3 separate regions of the Homo sapiens genome follow, and regions 1 and 2 are each linked to region 3. Evidence: promoter capture Hi-C in human tissues and cell types (Jung and others, 2019). All regions are on one chromosome and are shown on one strand. The core of a region is centred on a gene start or on the middle of the fragment in contact, and the rest is flanking DNA. Distances in the headings are between cores, read along the strand shown.

The links. Contacts are between HindIII fragments. The study calls those that stand out against the background at their distance.
Region 1: a contact is called between a fragment that was not itself captured here and the fragment with the promoter of EPS15 in region 3, in 1 of the 25 tissues and cell types used here (liver).
Region 2: a contact is called between a fragment that was not itself captured here and the fragment with the promoter of EPS15 in region 3, in 1 of the 25 tissues and cell types used here (aorta).

What each region holds. Positions count from the first base shown.
Region 1 is chr1:51,871,715-51,874,894 of GRCh38, forward strand. All of the region lies in intron 1 of NRDC (nardilysin convertase), which reads right to left. Among named protein-coding and RNA genes, the nearest start is that of NRDC, 5.4 kb to the right of the region's middle. The HindIII fragment of the contact is 5,458 bases long and covers 1-3,180 here.
Region 2 is chr1:51,838,244-51,841,517 of GRCh38, forward strand. It overlaps NRDC (nardilysin convertase), which reads right to left. Exons shown (of 31, transcript NM_001101662.2): 2 at 1,983-2,271. Among named protein-coding and RNA genes, the nearest start is that of MIR761, 3.5 kb to the left of the region's middle. The HindIII fragment of the contact is 3,482 bases long and covers 1-3,051 here.
Region 3 is chr1:51,517,596-51,521,127 of GRCh38, forward strand. It overlaps EPS15 (epidermal growth factor receptor pathway substrate 15), which reads right to left and starts at 1,671. Exons shown (of 25, transcript NM_001981.3): 1 at 1,604-1,671. The coding sequence starts at 1,636. EPS15-AS1 (EPS15 antisense RNA 1) reads left to right here and starts at 677. Exons shown (of 5, transcript NR_183651.1): 1 at 677-851. It also overlaps a transcript of OSBPL9 not described here. RefSeq lists an enhancer at 926-1,854 and silencers at 1,085-1,554, 1,705-1,894. The HindIII fragment of the contact is 17,142 bases long and covers 1-3,532 here.

The sequences.
Region 1 (3,180 bases), core at 563-3,062, 350 kb after region 3:
TCATACTTTACATATCCCTATTCTAGCACCTATTATATTTAATGCATTTCAGTTTCAGTATCTGCTCCCTGACTCTCCTACAGCAGATCATAAGCTTCTTAAAAGCAAAAGAGCTTTTACCATCATTCAGTTCTTTAAAAACAGGGCGTTTTTGTTTGTTTTTTGGTTTTCTTTTTGAGACAGTCTGGTTCTGTTGCCCAGCCTAGAGTGCAGTGGGCGCGATCTTGACTCACTGCAACCTCTGCCTCCCGGGTTCAAGCGATTCTCCTGCCTCAGCCTCCCCAGTATCTGGGATTACAGGCATCCGCCACCACACCCAGCTAATTTTTGTATTTTAGTAGAGACAGGGTTTCACCATGTTGGCCAGGTAGGTCTCCAACTCCTGACCTCACGTGATCCACCAGCCTCAGCCTCCCAAAGTGCTGGGATTACAGGCGTGAGCCACGGCGCCCAGTCAGAAAAACAGAGAGTTTTTTGTTCTGGTTTTGTTTTTTTGAGACAGAGGCAGGTGATCTTCCTGCCTTGGCCGCCCAAAGTGCTAGGATTACAGGTGTGAGCTACTGCACCTGGCCAACAGAGAGCTTTTTAATGCTAAATCTTATTTTCCTAAAACACACAGACATACACACACACACACAACTTCAGTTAGAAACAATATACACTCTTTCTATTCTTACTAGCCCATCAGCCCACTTTAAAGAAATCAGTCAGGCCCGGTGCAGTGGCTCATGCCAGTACTCCCAGCACTTTGGGAGGCCAAGGTGGGCTGATTGAGCTCAGGAGTTTGAGACTAGCCTGGGCAACAGAGCGAAACCCAACTCTACAAAAAAGGACAAAAATTAGCTGGGCATGATGGTGTGCACATGTAGTCCCAGCTACTTAGGAGGCCAAGGTGGGGAGGATGGCTTGAACCTGGGAGGTGGAGGCTGCAGTGAGTTGAGATCACACCACTGCACTCCAGCCTGGGTGACAGACCCAGACTGTCTCAAACACAAAACAAAACAAAATAAGGAAATCAGTCTAAGGAATAGTAAGAGACAAAAGATATGTTTATTAAAGTTATACTAGTATTCATAAGATTTAACATATTTCAATCTTAAAAGCACTTACTTTGTTAAATGAGTTTGAATCTCGTGAAGTAATACCTAGGTTACCTTTACTTTACAAGACAAGTGAGAGTGCAAAACAAAAAGAAATTTGGATTCACTTGTTCATTTGTTATCAGACTAAGGAATTGTCAATCTCATGGAATTTACACACATGGAAGTCATAATGATTTCTTTTGTAGCTGTGAGATTTTGTGATCATTTTAGCAATATTTGTGTGTCTGTGTGTGTGTGAAATGAAACACACACAAATGAAATTACTGGCTCATGTATTGAATGAAGCATTACGGTTCCAGGAGTTTTCATTGTAAATATCAACAAATAAACCTATGTTCTTCCCATCCAATACAAAAAAAAAAGTTCTCTTGTTTTCTGGTGTATAGTTTTCTTCTGATACCTCAGATTTGTATAAGGCTTCTGCTCAGTATACGTGCTGCCAAAGTGAGCAAAAGGCTTCTGCTCAGAAGTGAGCCACTTCACTAGCAAACTATTCAGGAAGCCAACAAATGTTAGTGTTCTCAATGCAACTGTTCCACTCACTGGAATTGTGATCCTCCTCCTGTTCCACAGCATATAATAGTAAACAACATAATATTCAGAAATAGCCTGTACCTTATTCAGCACACACCCACCCATTATTTTCTATAATATATGGAATTTTTATTTATTTATTTATTTATTTATTTATTTATTTATTTATTTATGTTTGAGACAGAGTCTTGCTCTGTTGCCCAGGCTGGAATGCAGTAGCACAATTTCAGCTCACTGCAACCTCTGCCTCCCAAGTTCAAGCGATTCCCCTGCCTCTGCCTCCCAAGTAGTTGGGATTACAAGCACCTGCCACTACAACTGGCTAATTTTTTTATTTTTAGTAGCGACAGGGTTTCACCATGTTGGCCAGGCTGGTCTTGAACTCCTGACCTCAGATGATCCACCCACCTCCGCCTCCCAAAGTGCTGGGATTACAGGCGTGAGCCCCCACGCCCAGCCTGAAAATTTATTAAGATAACCATCTCCTCACTTGTAACAGTCTGACCAAAATTTAAATTAGAAGGACTTGCCCTTCAGAAGTTTATATGCCTTTTCGACAGGGCGTGGTAGCTCACACCTGTAATCCCAGCACTTTGAGAGGCAGAGGCAGGCAGATCTCTTGAGGTCAGGAGTTCGAGACCAGCCTGGGCAACTTGGTGAGACACCTGCCCCCACCACCACCTCCATTTCTACAAAAAATTAGCCGGACATGGTGGGGCAGGTTGTGATGGTGCCTCTGTACTCCAGCCTGGGCGATGAATTGAAATCCTGTCTCAAAATTTTTTTTAATCATTAAAAAAAAAAAAAAAGAAGTTTACATACCTTTTCATTTGTTCTTTCCTTCTCCATAGAAATACAGGTCTTTTTACGAGCAGGTTAAACATGGAAAGTGCTCTGTACTTGTTTTAGTCAATCCAAAATACCTAACGTTAAGTGTTCTTCATTGTTAAAATTTACTATTCAGAATGCACCACAGCCAGGCCAGGTGCAGTGGCTCACCTGTGCCTGTAATCCCAGCACTATGGGAGGCCAAGGAGGGCAGATCATCTGAGGTCAGGAGTTTGAGACCAGCCTAGGCAAAATGGCGAAATCTCATCTCTACAAAAGCTTAGCTGGGCATGATGGCACGTGCCTGTAGTCCCAGCTACTGGAGAGCCTGAGGTGGAAGGATCACCTAAGCCTGGGAGGTCGAGGCTGCAGTGAGCCGTGATGGCGCCACTGCACTCCAGCCTGGGTTACAAAGTGAGACCCTGCCTCAAAAATAAAAATAAAAATAAAAAATAAATAGAATACACCACTACTAATCCTGCCCAACCAGAATTTCCACTCAACACCAATAAAAATTTGAATATCAATTCCCAACCTGAAGTCCCTTAACCCTTCCAGAAGGGAAGGGAATCAATACTTGGTAAGCATTTAATACAGATCCCTAAAAAAGCATAATAGGTGTCCTGGAAATATGCCCAACATTTCAAAAAAGCGGAATACAAATTACACATATGCTGAAGTAAAATTCCGCAGGCTATTAATAAATGCAGACTGG
Region 2 (3,274 bases), core at 61-2,560, 320 kb after region 3:
TTTAAAAACGATCACTAGACTCTGACCCTGCTGCTAGAAAAGATCAACTTAGAATTTGATCTACCTAAGCAAAATAAAAAGGGGTACCAAAAAGGCTGAACAGACATGTTCATTTGTCAAAGGTGTTCACAATTGCTGTATAAATCTAAAGTATTTTATAATGTCTTGACATTTAAAATGCCTGTCGAGACAATTTTTAACTGTTTTTAAATGCTTTGTCAGTTAATAGGAAATATAAACAAGTCAGATCATGGGAAAAGCTACTTACAGATAGATGGAAAGATATAGAAAAAAAGTATAGATAAGAAGTATTCAGTTAAGAAGTTATAACATGGTCTGGCTTAGAGCTAAAATAGGCCTCAGAATTTTATATTCTTGTTTTAAAACTGAGAAAAAAAAGAAAGAAAATGAAAACACCTAAAATCACGCAGAAAGAAAGGAACAGAGCCAGAAGTAGAACCCAGGTTTCCTGACTGTCAGTGTTCTTTTTTTTTGTGACTTTTATAATTTCTTCCTATTAATGCTCTATTTGGAATTATGAGATCTATTTTAAGTTAAAAGTGAATCTATTAATTTCCAATCTGTTCATAGAGACCTTAGCATACAGACTATCAAGTGACATATATATACCTTTTTTTCCCCCAGTGTTTTGATGTTCATCTCTACAGCCTTCCAAGTTAAAACTATTTAATACTTGGTCTATCATGCTACCCAAAAACAGGATCACTAATAATCTGAGTAGTAAACAGGAAAAAGCTTCTTAAAAATATTACTCAATCCAACAACTTAGTAAAAAACTGGTACAATCTTTCTTTTTAAAAAATAATTTTTTCCAAGAAGAATAACTATTAAATCATATCTACTACTTATACCTCAACTCTTCCCACCTTTAAGGGTGACCACTTTTTTTCTTTTTCTTTTTTTTTTTTTTTTTGAGACAAAGTCTCACTCTGTTGGCCAGGGTGGAGTGCAGTGGTGTAATCAAAGCTCACTGCAACCTTAACCTCCCTGGGCTCAGGTGATCCTCCCATCTTCAGCCTGTCAAGTAGCTGGAACCACAGGCATGTGCCACCACACCCAGCTAATTTTTTTTAATGTTTTAGAGAGACAGGGTTTCACCACATTACCTAGGCTAGTCTCAGAACTCCTGGACTCAAGTGATCTGCCCATCTCGGCCTCTTTGTATGTAGACTGTACCATGTTGAATATATTATCAATATTCAAGAAACTAGCTTTAACTAACTTTTGCTGGTCAATTCCACTGTACTGGCTCCGAAAATTATCCTCTGGGTACTCCCTACTATGAAAATGGAGGTATTCTTCAAAAGATATTAAGAAATTCTCCCTATCAAGACTTATTTATCTATCCACTGATGGTTGTTACATATTAAATAAGCTTAACTGCCCAGTTTCTATTTCAACTCTTCCAAAGTACTTATTTGTCCAGACCTTTGCGTTCCCATATAAAGTGCTAAATCAAACTCAATTATCTAATTATCTATATAGAAGCCACCCATACAATAACTCTTAGAGCCCTAGGCCCATGTAAAGATTTCACACTAGCCCCATTCTTTTCTTCTTCTTTTTCCAGTCTCACCAAGGATAACATACTCTTATTTCTCTAATCCAGGCTAAGAATTCTGCAGCTCCTCATCTACCAGTATTTGTTTTTAAAACATATAATGTATACAAATACACATAAATTCAAATACCTCTGAGTGTTGATTACCTCTGAGAGATATAGCTATGGGTGATTTTTATATTTTTGTTTTCTTTATATTCCATTAGTTTATATAATGAGCATTTACTACTTTTATAATTGGAGGAAAATGTTTTCAAAATGTAATCCTGATACAGAATAGACCTTTACTGAAGACCAAAAGATAACTATATACTTCCTTTTTGCCATTAAAAAATAAAGCTTGAGTTTAGAAGTTACCCAAAGAATTCCCAAATTAGAAGAAAACAGACATGACTCGCACCTGTTTTTCAGTAGTTTTTTTTCTAGCTTCTGCTCTCTCTTCTAATTCTTCCAATTCATTATCCTCAGTATCAAGATCATCATCATGTTCATCATCAAACTCATCTTCATCATCAAAACCCTCTTCATCGTCATCTTCTATTTCAGCTCCAGAATCTTCATCATCATCTTCTTCTTCTTCCTCCACCTCCTCTTCTTCTTCATCATCTGTTGTATTTCCTGTTTTACCTTCCATATTACTTAGGTCTGAAATCAGAAGTGCCTGCAAGCCATTCTGTAATTTGATGTATCTGGGGGGAGAAAAAAAAAATCACACATTTTGATTCAGCTGTTCTTTACACCAATACAAGTAATCAGCTTAGCAGAATTTTAAAAAAAGAATCCAAGTAAAAGTACAAACACACACACACACAACTATTTGTAAACTAATAAAATTGGTTGCTCTGGAGAGGGAACCCCAAAAGCTAATCAGTTTTTGAACAGCTGGAGGGAAATGAAGGTAAGAACACTTCATAATATACGCTGTTTGTATTTTTAAATTTTGAACTACATAAATATATTTACCTATTCAAAAAACACATTTTAGTAGCTAAAGATATGCAACTCACCACTCAGCCTCCCCTATTTCTCAGTTTGTAAGTATTTAAACATTCTATCATACCAGAAGACTTAGGCTAAGATAAATTGTATCCCTCAATATACAGAACAGTCATGTCAGCTTAATATTAAAGCAAAATCACACAAAATTAAACTGCTGATTTTCTTTTCTATAAAATGTTTGACATATCAGTCTCCAAAGCTGCCTTTATGAACTAAAAAGTGGTTATATCTCTATGAAAATGAAATCCCCCACAGACTGGTAGCCCCGCAGGAAGATTATTCTGCTTTTTTTGAGACAGAGTTTGCTTTACTGCCCAGGCTGATTTTAAACTCTTGGGCTCAAGCAGCTCACCTCAGCCTCCTGAGTGGCTGGGATTACAGGCATGTGCCACCATCTCAAGCTCCTGATTCTTATCTGCAAAACTACTGTGCCAGTTTGATGACTAGGTATCTATTACAGACCACTCCCATTTACACTAATTTTTTTTTTCCTTTTTCTTTGAGACAAGGTCTCACTCTGTTGTGTAGGCTAGAGTGCAGTGGCACGATCTCAGCTCACTGCAGCCTCGACCACCTGGGCTCAGGCAATCCTCCCACCTCAGTCTCCAGAGTAGCTGGGATCACAGGCACAGGCCACCATACCTGGCTAATTTTTGTATTTTTTTAGAGACAGGGTTTTGCCATGTTACCCAA
Region 3 (3,532 bases), core at 421-2,920:
TAATGCAAGTCACTAACTAGACTCACAGAAAGTGAATACCTAAAAGTCAGTGCTGTAGTTGTTCAAATTTGAGTTTTGGGAGGACCCTTCCAAACATACATAACCAAGACTAAACCACCACATTCCATGTTAAAGGGTTCTCTGCTTGTCAGAACAGGACAACCACCACCACCATCAAAAAAACTGGGAAATAGACTTTCCTTATGACACTTAGAATTCCTGCAAACACGGGTTAGTTATTTTACATGAAGCATGTACGTGACTCCTGGTTTCTGAGAAAACATTTTTTTCTCTCTATCCTACAGTGCTAGGCAAAGCACCCCAAAGCCTCTTGATTTTAAACACAGAAAACTCCACTGCCGAAATGTTTGCCCTATCCCAGCGCTAAAGCCTTAGAAGCACCGACGAATCTAGGCCAAGGAGTACAAGATGGCAGTGAGATACCACAATGCAGGCAAGGAAGACGGGATGGGCCCCAATCGGGAAGCACGCGCCACCAGCTCTGGAGAGAACCGTCTGAGGAGACGCGGGGGAGAGTTTGGGTCACAGGAGCAGGAAGGAACTGGCAGGTGTCTGTCACCTTATCATCCCGGACACCATGTTTACATTGTAATTGGCTTCTTTACAGAGAGGGAGGGACCAGGTTCCCAGTGTGAGTGATGTTTAGAGGTTTTCTGAGAAGCACAAGGACTGGACTTTGACAGGAAGCAACGAGGCAAGAGGGAAGCTCGAGAACAGGTTTTGCTGAGGATTCCCCCCAAGAAAAGTGCTCCCCGGGAGGCCGTTCCTGGCACCAAGACTGGCGGAGCCACCACACCCGTTAAAGGGATCCACCTGGACAGCGATCAGGCGTGAGCCCCCCGAGGGGAAGTTGAAGTGGAAGCAGACGTGGGTGGCAAAAGGCTGCATTGGGGGTCTGACCCAGAAGGAAACCTGATCAGGAGGGGGGAGAGGCTGAACGGAGGAAGGGGCCGGCAGAGTGGGTAGTTGAGTAGGATGAGACTTCTTTGGAGGCGAGGCTAACTACATTAAACTCTGGGAAGGGAGGGCTTCCGTCGGACCCTGGGAGAAAGGCAGGTCTGGAGAGGAAAGACTGGCTTGGGGGGCCTGCGCGTCCGGCTCTGGAAGGCAACTCCTACTGGGGGCGGCGCGCAGCCGGCCTGGCGGGCGAGCCTCGTGCGGCCCGGGGGTGCGGCCGGCCCGCGCGAGCTCAACAGGAGCTCACCTGGGATGCGTGCGGCCCTGTGGGAGGAAACTTCCTGGGTAGGTGAAAGCTGCCCCGCGGGAGCCGGCCCGGCACCGGCAGAGCGCGGCCGGGTCACAGTCCACTCGGCAGCGGCGCGGAGGGCGGCGAGGGCCGCGCGGGGCGGGGCAGGAGGCGCCCGACGACCCTGGGCGAGGTCGCGGCGGCCGCAGGGGGGCTCCGGCTCCGGAGGGCGCCCTCCCGCAGTCGCACCCGCTTTCCCTCACACACACCGGCCGCCCGGCCCACAAGCCAAGAAGCTGCCTGCTTGGCCCACAAGCCAAGAAGTCGGCGAAGCTGAGGGCGGTGGGGGAGGGGGCACCGGCCGGCCAAGCCCGGCGGACGGGCGTGTGGCGTTACCTGTGTCAGAGAGAGCTGGGCCGCCGCAGCCATGGTGTTTCCATCATGCAAGGGAGGGGAAGGAAGACGGGCTGACTGGGGCTCGGGGCGGGGAGGAGGCGGAGGGAGCGGCCGCAGGCGAGGCCGGGGCGGGCGGGCGGGCGTCTCCCCTAACTTCCACAACTTCCCTCCCCACGCCCGCCCCGCCCCGCCTGGCCCCGCCCGCCTGCCCGCCCGCCGGAGCCGGCCGCGGCGCCGCCCAAACCCTGGCGCCGGAGTCTCGGCCACCGGACCAGAGCCTGCCCCCGGGGCCGCCTTGGAAAACCCGGCGCGGACATAAAATTAAAGCGGACGGGCTGCGGAGGCGACTGCAGATTGACCTGTGAACTTCAGACAGGCCACCTACCTACGCTGAGCTCCTGCTTCTGAAAAATGGGGGAAATTGTAACTAGAGGCCCAGTTACTTACAAAGACTAAATGAGATAATGATAGAAAATAATAATGGCACTTTATATATGCCAGGCTCTGTACTAGACTCTTATTTTTTGAATTGTATGAATGAAGGAACTGAAACACAAATAAGTGTCTTACTAAGGTCATACAGCTAATTATATAGCTGAATTAGAATCCAAGTCTAACTGTAAATATTTAACCATCTGCTAGTATATTGGAAAAGAAGACATTAAGTCATTCCCTCCCACAGCCAAAATCCATTTGGAAAGGGGAAGCAAAAATGTATTTGCCTGGTGCCTGTCACATTTAGATTGTTTAACAAGGGAACGCTGGTGCCTGTAGCACTCCTAGCTTCTCCCATCATCCACTTAGCAAACTCCTCCTTCTTTCTCAGGACATAATTCAAGTTTCACCTCCTTTGCAAAGTATCTTTTTCTCTTCCTTATGTCAGAGTTACACACTCTCCTTTATAACCTTTCTTCTCTACCTTGTGAAGTCATCACCCTAATGACAGTTTACACCTATCTATCCCTCTAGATTAAGAGCTCCTCAATGGCAAGAACTGTTTTCAATATATTTCTATATCGTCAGACCCTAGCATTACAGTGCATGCTCAGTAAAGGCCTTCGTTCCTGCCTATATTAAACATAACACATCCTACACCTTCTGATGCTGCCAACCTTCAGTTGGAATACCCAGTTACTTGAAATTCATCTTCAAAGTCTCAGAGTATATACCACCTACTTCAAGAAGCCTTCTAGGAACTCCACACCCCACCTCTAAGTTGTTCTGATGTGACCGTTTTTATACTCTGCCTTATCTGTAAGCGTTAGTTGAGGGTTTGTCTCCACCTCACTGCACTGTAAAATCCTTGAGGACAAGGGGCTGACTCACTGCTTTATCTCCCTCATAGTTTAGCCTACCACAGAGGCCTCAATAAATGTATTTGCCCGAATTGGTCTTAATTTCTTAGTCACGATGGCTTCCCATTACAACAAACCACAACTCTATCAGGCCTACACCCATTACCATTATCATAGCAGTCCCCGTGGTAGGAGGGACAACTGAACAAGACCCAGGATGGAGTTAGCCCCACCTAAGTTTTTAGACTATTGCCTCCACAAGCAAACCATTCCAGAAATTTCCCAAGGAACTCCTAATTCTACTCAGACTCCTTCTGGCAAAGGCCAGCTAACAAGAGCAAGCCATATAGGTCTGGTGAGTAACCACTTATTCAAGAGCATCTTCCTTGGCTTCTTTTTTGCTGCTAATCTCTTTAACTGAAGAGAGAATAAGAGATACTGTTTTACATTACTTCACTTTGGTACACTTATCAGCCATAACCACAACCGGTGTTTCTACCGGTGTTTTCTACTTTATATTAGCACATTTGAGCTTCACAACTCTAAAAGGAAGTAATCGTCATACTCACTTTACAAATGAGGTAATGCAGGGTCACAGAGGCTAAGTGATTTGCCCAGGGTTATACAACTGATA